Regions from separate parts of the Homo sapiens genome. Here all the other regions are linked to region 2. Evidence: promoter capture Hi-C in 16 types of primary human blood cells and fetal thymus (Javierre and others, 2016). All regions are on one chromosome and are shown on one strand. Each heading gives the region's core, a stretch centred on a gene start or on the middle of the fragment in contact. The rest is flanking DNA. Distances are from core to core; before and after follow the strand shown.

Region 1 (3,071 bases), core at 372-2,871, 1.4 Mb before region 2:
GTTGGGTTTAGCCAGGATTTGTACCCGGTCTGGCTCTACAGCACACATTCTTAGCCATTCACCAGCTGGGGTTCCTAGTGGTACCCTCCCCCTTTGACACATGAGACTAGACCTGGCTAACTCCCCAACCTCAAGGAACCTCCATTTTGCTGCTTTTCCCTCGTTAATAGGTGATGATACATAAGGCATTGTGAGGAATAAAAATTAAGGGTAAAATGCCTGGAATATGCCATGTGTATAGTGTGTGTTCAATAACTACCAGCTATTTCTGTTAATTCTACAGCTAGAATGGAATAATGTTCCATTCATAGAGTAATTAATGCCCTGAGCCTGGGAAGATCCACTCCTCATATGCTGTTTTGTTTCTGCAGCCCTAAGATTCAGGGCAATGGATGTAAGCCACACGGGAGATTTCGGCTCCATCTCAGGGAGACCCCACACCCCACTGTTCCTTAGGGGTTGGTGGGAGCCACTGAGGGGGGTGCCTATGGCAGCGAGGGCTGGGTTGGGGGCACAGGAAAGCTGCCGAATGGATATTGAGGGGAGGTGGTAGTAGCCGCCCTCTAAGGAGGATGTGGCCCTGGGCAGCCGGTGCCGCATAATGGCAGGGACAGGCTCACGCTACCACTCCGGAGAGCAGTAGCGCTTCCTCTTTGTCTTCGAGAGCCGGTTGCAGCTGGGGCTCTTCTAGGGAGCGTTCCCATCAACTGCTGCAGCGGGCATTTTGCTGGTCGGCACAGTATCGTATCGGAATCTGATTTCTTCGGGTCTGGGAGACGGACTCCGTTTGCGGGGGTTCATGGGAAAGGACTGCAGCGCGTTTGTCGGTCATTAAGCACGTTTTTGAGATCGACTCTGCAGATATGAACTTGCACTTTCAGCGCATTCATCAAAGCCTCGGGAGAGCTGACCCAGTCCCTACCCCCAGTCTCCCGAGCCCGCGGCGCTTCGGCTCCGGGACGCCCCCATCCTCCCCTGTCGCCCACCCGGGCGCCCCCGGCCTCGTTTTCTCGAGACGTGTCACTGCTTGTTGACCGCAGCCAGTCACGAAAACGGTCCTTTTCTTCAGTCTCCGGCCAGGGTTTCACTCCTGCAGGGAACAGCGGGTGGGGACAGAGTGCGGGGCTCCGTGCTGGACGGTGTCTGGAGGGGCCCCAAGGGAACAACCCTTCACCGGGAGAACACCAAGGCCAGAAGGGGAAGAGCCCTTCTCAAGGTCACCCGGGAGGAAATCGGCGCCCACCGGCGCTGCCGCCTCCCGCTCCCCGGCACTGGTGACTCACTGCTCCAGGTCCGCGGGGCCACCTCCGAGACTTCGGTCTCGAGGACCGAGGTGGGACAGGGTCTGCGGACCGCGCGCTGCCGCTGGACCCAGCCCAACCCAACCCAGGCCTCCCCACCCACCGGGTGCCCGCAGGCCACGCCCCTCGCCCGGAGCCCCGCCTCCAGAACGCGGCCCCGCCCCCGATACTGCAGCCTCGCCCCGCCCCCCGGCCTAACCCCAGCCCAGGCGCCCTCAGGCGCCGGCTCTCTAGCGCGCCCGACCTCCATCTTCCCGGGGCCGCGCCGCGCGCGCGCGCGGGCTTTGGGCGGGACCCTGCAGAGGCGGCGGGGCTCCTCCTCCCGCTCCTCCTCGGCCTCCCCTTCGGGCGCTCTCGCGCTAACTGTGCTCCTCCGGGGCCCTCCGCCTGCTCCCAGCCATGGTGGCCTGGCGCTCGGCGTTCCTTGTCTGCCTCGCTTTCTCCTTGGCCACCCTGGTCCAGCGAGGTAAGGCGGGCGGGGGGCGCGCGGGGACCGCGCGGGGACCCCGCCTTGTGGGCCCAGGGGTCGCTCTGCGCATGAGCGGCACGGTCCCCGCCTCTCGGGCCTGCGGTGGCTGCCACCGGCCGGCCCGGCTGTGCGAGGCGGAGCGGCGGGGGTCCGAGCCCCGGGCCCGTGGGGGTTGACTCCGCCGCGGTCGGAGTAGCCGGAGAGGAGGGGTGGGTCCCCTCCTGACGCTGGGCTGGAAACAGCGGGATGGGCCCCCTAAAATCCTGAACGAGCAGGTGTACCACTGGTGACAACAGCTGTCCCCAAGAGTTTACCTTTGAGAAAACCTTGAAGAGAGCAGTCATTTTCGAAATTTGCTGCGAGGCCACCGACAGCAGAAGCACCTGGGGAACTTCCTAGGTGGATTCCTAGCCCCTTTCATCGGGATCACAGCGGGCATGGGCTGTGGGGGGGGGGGGGGGGGGTCAGCGAGGCGTAGGTCTAACCAGCTCTCTAGGTGCTTCTGCCGTCCGCTTCAGTTTTTGAGACTTTGGTCATGTTTTGCCAAGGAGCAGGAGAGAGAAATCCCGCTGAATCAAGGAAGCACGTTTCTTAGACCCTCTGCTACTCAAAATGTGGTCCAGGGCCCAGCCGCATAGGCATCACCTGGGAGCTTGTAAGAACTGCAGCATCTCACGCCCCGCCCCCGACCTACTGAGTCTGATTCTGCATTTCAACTAGATCCGCGGGTGATTCTCTGGCACATTCAAGTTTGAGAAGCATCTTAGTAGAATAAATGCAGTCTGTGGTTAAAAATAGGGTCTTAAACATGTACCAACAGAATCTTCTTACACTTATTTATATCCTATGTCCCCATCAGAAAAAGGGATTAAGGGAAACACTGTAATTGAACGTGAATTATGCTCCAAGCTTCCTGACAATAGAAGCGAACCCAGCTGGTGGAAAATATGTGAGCTCAGGAAACACACACACACACACACACACACACACACTTTGTCCTAGTACTGAGTTCTAGTAAGATTTATGTCACATAAAGGAACACTGGAAAACAGTGGATGGTACTAGCCAAGCCACTTTTGCAAAAGATGCAGAAATGTTTTTCATGTGGGCAACCCACCTGGAGTTGATTCACGAAGAGCCATTTAACATTCTGCAGAGGTGCCAGGCTCTGTTCTAGGAACTGATGATGCGGTAGTGAACAAAATTGAGACTGTCTTCATGGAGCTTACATCCTGGTCCGGGCAGAAAACAAGCCCAACATTGAAATCTATATATATTGTCAGTGCTATGGAGAAAAATAA
Region 2 (3,005 bases), core at 454-2,953:
TTTCCCAGTCCATCTTGTCCTCTGGCTTTTACTTCAGAAGGGACACTCCTGCCTTGCTGGCAAGAGGGGATGGGCTTTGCCTTGAATTCCAGCTGTGGGCTCCGCTTTGCAAGATATCTGCTTGTCAGAACCTGAGACTGCAGGTGTGCAGGGTCTGGTCTATATGACCACGGGACAGGTCCCAGGTATATGACTGACAGGCCTGAGGGACCAGAAGCCCTTCTCCTTACCCAAGCCCAGATGGAGAAAACTTCAACTGTGAGAGCCCTCCTTTATTCCCAAACGGCCATCATTGTTTCCCTTCCCTGTGGCTTTTTATAAAGAAATCTGGGGGAGTAAGAATAAATCGTTTCTAGATCAAAGAGAAACAGCGAAAACCAGGAGAAAAGGCGGTAGCCAATGTACCCACTCCATTCAGATGAATGCAGTCCAAACAGAAAGACAGCCAGTCATACATCACTCAGTGACAGTGCAATGCAATACTTCCAAAGATCTGATTAGGCACTTCTGTTTTTCTTATTTTAAGCTTATGCTTTACAAAGTAAGTTGTTGTTTTTCGTTTTGTTTTGTTTTAAACGAATCGCCTTTAAAGTAGTGGGGGCAAAACACCAGAGCTTAGGCAACCCCTGGTGGAGGCTTTTATAATTCCTCTACTTTTTGGCTTTGACAGCATGAGGGTTGCCTGCTCTAAGCCCTGCCTATCCATCCACCCAGAACTGAAGTGGCTGAATCATTGCCTGGCATGACAGGAAAGTCTTGGGCTTGAGGGGAGAAAAAAAAAGAAAAGAAGAGAGGGAAGACGGTGGGACGAGAACTGGAAAGAAGAGGAAGGAAGGGAAAGATTGTTCAGAGGACGATGCAAGATGTCCACAGGCAAACGGGACTGAGACTAACCTCTTCCATTGTGAGAGAATATCTCAGCTCCTAAAGTTTTTGATATAGTATGTGATGCAGGGTAGGAGCCCAGCAAATGTCAGGGCTTCTGTGATGCCCAGCCCCTTGGCTGCCCCCTCATGCTCCATGCGGCTTCACTTCTTCCTGGGAAGTAAAACAGAATCAGATTCTGGCTGTGTTGCCATTCACTTTCACTCCTCTGGAACCCCAGGGAGCCTAGGGCTGCTACTGCTGCACCTTAGTCCTCAGGGTAGCACAGACCTGGCTACGGAACTAGATGCCTATGGATGACCATCTATACTCTCCAGAGTTCAGATTGAGAGCAGAGTTCTAGCACGTTGCCTCACGCACCTTGAGATAGTCTCTTCTGGGAACAGTGCCCTCCGTGCCCAGCGCATTTGGGTAACATTCACAGCCCACGTTAGACTCCTCCTTGGAACACCATTTCACGTGCCTACAGAGCCCAGGGCCCTCCCTATGACTCTGCAGGGGAGAGAGCCCTCACTGGCATTGGGCTGAGGACAGCCTGGGACACTCCCTTTCCTCATCCAGGTAGTTCTCATCATGGTTCTCATCCCGAGCCCTTGAAACCCCACGAAGGTACTAGCCCCTGGGATACAGTAGTAAATGGACAGGGCAGAGCCTGCCCTTGAGGGGTGCCCATCCAAGGATCCCTGGATCTGGAATGAGAGACAAATCTTGAATTCTCCCCTGAATCCTCATCCTACCATTGTGTGGGACTATATACCAATTTGCCAGTGTGCATTGTCCCCTCCTCCTGGAGTTAGGCTCAAAGGCGGGGGTAGGGTAGAAGTCCAAGAGCAAGGGGACTCCCTTTGCTGTATGGTACCCTAGAAGGTCCAGAGTCCTAGAACTCCTCTCACACCAAATCCACATATCTTAGCTGCAGAAGTGTCTGGAGCAGTCCCCTGAGCTTCCTGTGACACTAAAGTGGCATGGGAAAGCAGTTGAATTTTCCCGTGCCTCCAAGGAGGTAAGAGAGGGAGGGAGAGAGAAAGAGGGAAAGAGAAAGAGGGAGAGAGGGAGAGGGAGAGGGGGAGAGAGAGAGCGAGAGGGAGAGCACGTCTCCAAAAAATGTCACATAGAAAATGGCATGGACTGTGCAGCTAGGAACCAGGTTAGAATGACGACACCACATTGGAAGACAGCATGAAGGTATGCCATCTCTGAGCGCTGGATGGGATTGTACATTGGGAGTGGATGCTGGCATGGACAGGTTGCCATTGACAACAAGCAGATTCTCTTCTCTCTTGCTCTCTCTCTCCGAATTTAAGAGTCTCACAGAATTTAGGTGATAGGCTGGGGCAAAGGAGACAATCCTAAATTGCTTGATAACAATAATTGGTAATTAGTAAGACAATCCCGAAGTAACTGGGAAAATGTGGAATTGACTAGATTAAATTTTCTGTTATCTGTTGGAGTTGAGACTCAAGATAGGGCTCTTTTGTGGTAGATGCCATTCTAGATGGCCCCCAAGTTTCCTGCCTCCTAGTGTATGTGACCCCTTGTGTATGGGTAGAATGTACTACAATCAGCCTCCTTATCCATGTGTTCCACATCTGTGGATTCAACCACCTGTTGAATTTGAAAAAGATGGGTGGTTGTCTCTGCAGTGAACATGTACAGACTTTTTTCCCTTGTCATTATTTCATAAATAATGCAGTATAATAACTATTTACATGGCACTTACATTGTATTAGGGATTATAAGTAATCTAGAGGTAATGTAAAGTATACGGGAGGATGTGTATGTATGTTATATGTAAACACTGCACCATCTTATATAAAGGACTTGAGCACCTGTGGATTGTGCTATCCACAATCCCGAGCTTTAAGTGAGAATGTAGTCCTTCACTGCAGCCTTTTGAGACCCTGAACCTAAGACCCAGCTTAGCTGTGCCTGGATTTCTGACCCACAGAAAGTAGGAGGTGACAAATGAGTAGTGTTTACAGCCACTAAGCTTGTGGTCATTTGTTACATAGCATTGATTGGCCCTTATCCCTCATTCACTGAAGACTCAGGTACCAGGCTCACAGGTGACCTTGGTACCCTGTGTCCTGTCATCATTCTGGGGGACTGCAGTGTATTCA
Region 3 (2,886 bases), core at 166-2,665, 1.2 Mb before region 2:
AGGCAGCAAAAGCCGTGTTGTGCTATTCTCTGAATCGCCCAGACCTCGTGTGTGGTTGAATATTTGCAGATGAGTGAAGTCCTCACCATTTCAAGTGCTGTCTTAGCTGTGACTGGTTTTCAGTGACACTAACCACTTGGGTGATTAATTTATTAAAATATATTGTAATTACACTGAGGTAGAAACAAAAGTGAAGGGAATGTTTCTTGTTTCTGTGCTTTTGGAAACTCCCAAAAGTTTGGCACAATGGGATGACCAAGACAGGCAGGAATGGGCATGTAAAACTGACTGAGCTACATTCCAACAGTGCATGCTGCCTGAGTGCACTCTGGTGTCAGGGAAATGGCCAAGTTGTGGGAAAACTGGATGTTCCGGGTTACACGATAGGCCATCTCTTGTCGTCGGAGGAGGCGGTGGCCCCTCCCAGTTCGACACGGTCACTTTATGTTTCTAACTGATTTCTCTTAGTTCTGCAGCTGCCTCAGAAGCAGTAGGCTTGCTTGTGTGTTCATGAAAACAATAAACTGGTTCCCTCAAAGTGTGAAGAACTGAAAGTAAATGGTTCTGTTTTCTTGCCTCCTGAGCAGTTTGGACGTTTTCCATCTCAGATTTTTGCCTCGATCTGCACCAGCTCCCACGCCCGCGGGGTCCCATCTCCCCGTCCTCACTCCCAACCCCCCATCAAAGACCCTAAGCAGCCACAGCAGAATTGGGGTCTTAAAACCACACGAGGCAAGGTGATGCTAGAAGAGGAGAGCCCGGGTGGGATCTCCCTCCCAAGAGGATTGGTGGCCTGGGCAGGGACAGCCAAGCGATCGCCAAGGGCAGCAGGTGGCGGCGCCGGAAGTGGTTTGACAGCTGCGAAGCCCCTCCCGGGGTTCCAGGAGCTGGGGCTCTCGGGGCGGAAGTGAGCCAGGTGCGCGGCCCGCAGCAGGTCCGAGGGCAGCAGTCCCCGGATGGGGCGCTGAGGTTTCCGGGGGTGGGGGGGAGGAGGGCCCAGAGGGGATGAAGAGGGGCCGCCCACCCCGCCACCGCCAGGCCCTGCGCAGCGCGCGGGGAGGGGGCGGGCTGGCCTCGCGCGGGGCCCTCGGGAGTCGGGGCGCGGGAGGCCGGGGCAGCCCGGGCCCCGCTTACCTGTCCAGGGTCTCCACGCTGGGCTGCCGGGAGCCGGCGGTGGCGCCCCCCGCGGCCCGAGGAGGCCTCCTGCCGCCCGCCGGCCCCGGGTTCGGGCCCCCGCCGCCCTCGCAGCCCGCCGCCGCCGCCGCCGCCGGCCTGTCCATGGCGCGCCGAGTCCTGCCGCCTTGGGGAAGCCGCCGTCGGGACGGGAGCGGCGGCCGGGAAGGTTTCGCTGCTTGCCTCCTGCCGCCCGCTCTATACCGCCCGCCCGCCTCAGGCGGCCGCCGCCATTAGCTGTCACCTGGCGGCCCCGCGTTACCCACAAGGCCGCGCGCGCGGGGGTCGGGGGGCGGGAGCGGGGGCGGGGAGGGCGGCGCGCGGGGCCGGCGCCGGGAACCCCCACCTCGCCCAGCCCCACCTGGGCGCTCGCCCACGGAGCCTTACAGCGGGGATCTGGGACCTCCTGCTCCAGCGACCTGGGTGCGTACAGAGCCACTGGGGTTCGGAATCCCCAAACGGATTATGCGTAGCGTGCTTCACTCTATAGTCACACCGGGTTGACTGCAGAGACGTGGGGTGTAAAAAGAAGTTTGAAGACATTCAAGTATCAAAAATGATTTCCCACCTCAGTTGTCCTTCCCGGAAAAGGTATAGAACAGCTCAAGCTCCCTCGGTCTTGACATCTTGAAGCAGGAGCAATTCCGTGCATTTTAGCAATTCCTCCCCACCCCATTCTTCCCTCCACTCTCCCCCTCCATACGCACCCCGCCGCCCCGCCACAAACCCACCCCCTTGCCATCTGTAGGGCAACCAAGTGTTCTGATGCCGCCCTCGGAGCTTCCGCCCATGGTTTATGTTAAGAGTAACATTTAACTTCTGTTGATTAAAAAATCACTGCTATGAACATCAAGCCAATATCTTGGTGAGGCATTTAGGACATTTGCTTTCTGGGCTAGATTTATTTCCTTGCTCATTTTGTTTGGGTTCGAATATCCAACAGCTCATCCCCTCTCACCTCACCCCTGATTAAGTTGGGAGTGGGTGTGTGGCTCGTGATTAAGCCTCTTTGCCTGTGATTGCTCTGGGTGTAGACAGGAGGCCTGCGACCCAGGTCTGGAAAAGAAGATATAAAGGGAACAATTTGCTCACTGTTAAAAGGCAGATCTGCAGACAGGGAGTTACTCATGCCCATCCCAGACCCATCCTGCCCCACCAGCTTAATAACTTCAAACTGAACTTTGAGGATATGATGCCTGAAGCCCCGACAGCCATCTTACGCACAAGAGGAGGTGAGCCTGGGGTAAGAAGATGACAGAGTGAGGAGGGCTAGGAGGAAGGAAAGGAAGATCCCCAGACAATAATAGCTCCTATCTCACACTGGAGAATCACCGACTGCAGGTTGCTGGCTTTCTAAAATTATTAAATCAAATGGTTAACCCACTGTTATGGACTGAATGTTTTCATCCCCCTGAAGTCCATATGTTGAAGCCCTAATTCCCTGTGTGATGGTATTTGGAGATGGGGTCTTTGAGAGGCAATTAGGTCATGAGGGCCAAGCTCTAGTCTGATGGAACTGGTGCTTTTTAAGAAGGGTCACCAGAGAGCTTGATCTCATGCACTCACATGCACACACTGAGAAAAGGCCGTGTGAGTACACAGCAAGAAGGTGGCCATCTGCAAGCCAGGAACAGAGCCCTTACTAGGTCCCTGCTGGACACTTAATCTTGGACTTTCCAGCCTCCAGAGTTGTGAGAAAATTTCTGTTGTTTA

The links. The method cuts DNA at HindIII sites, captures the fragments that hold promoters and counts their contacts. A CHiCAGO score of 5 or more calls a contact.
Region 1: the fragment with the promoter of CD99L2 here is called in contact with a fragment that was not itself captured in region 2 in 1 of 17 cell types (activated CD4 T cells); the score reaches 6.2 in activated CD4 T cells.
Region 3: a contact is called between the fragment with the promoter of MTMR1 here and a fragment that was not itself captured in region 2, in 1 of 17 cell types (non-activated CD4 T cells). The highest score is 5.7, in non-activated CD4 T cells.

The regions. Positions count from the first base shown.
Region 1 is chrX:150,897,218-150,900,288 of GRCh38, reverse strand. CD99L2 (CD99 molecule like 2) reads left to right here and starts at 1,621. Exons shown (of 11, transcript NM_031462.4): 1 at 1,621-1,767. The coding sequence starts at 1,701. RefSeq lists a silencer at 1,337-1,946. The HindIII fragment of the contact is 7,642 bases long and covers 1-2,681 here.
Region 2 is chrX:149,508,164-149,511,168 of GRCh38, reverse strand. No RefSeq gene overlaps it. Among named protein-coding and RNA genes, the nearest start is that of IDS, 4.4 kb to the right of the region's middle. RefSeq lists an enhancer at 1-736. The HindIII fragment of the contact is 2,349 bases long and covers 529-2,877 here.
Region 3 is chrX:150,691,925-150,694,810 of GRCh38, reverse strand. It overlaps MTMR1 (myotubularin related protein 1), which reads right to left and starts at 1,415. Exons shown (of 16, transcript NM_001306144.3): 1 at 1,135-1,415. The coding sequence starts at 1,280. RefSeq lists an enhancer at 1-71 and silencers at 965-1,104, 1,415-1,484. The HindIII fragment of the contact is 7,697 bases long and covers 1-2,886 here.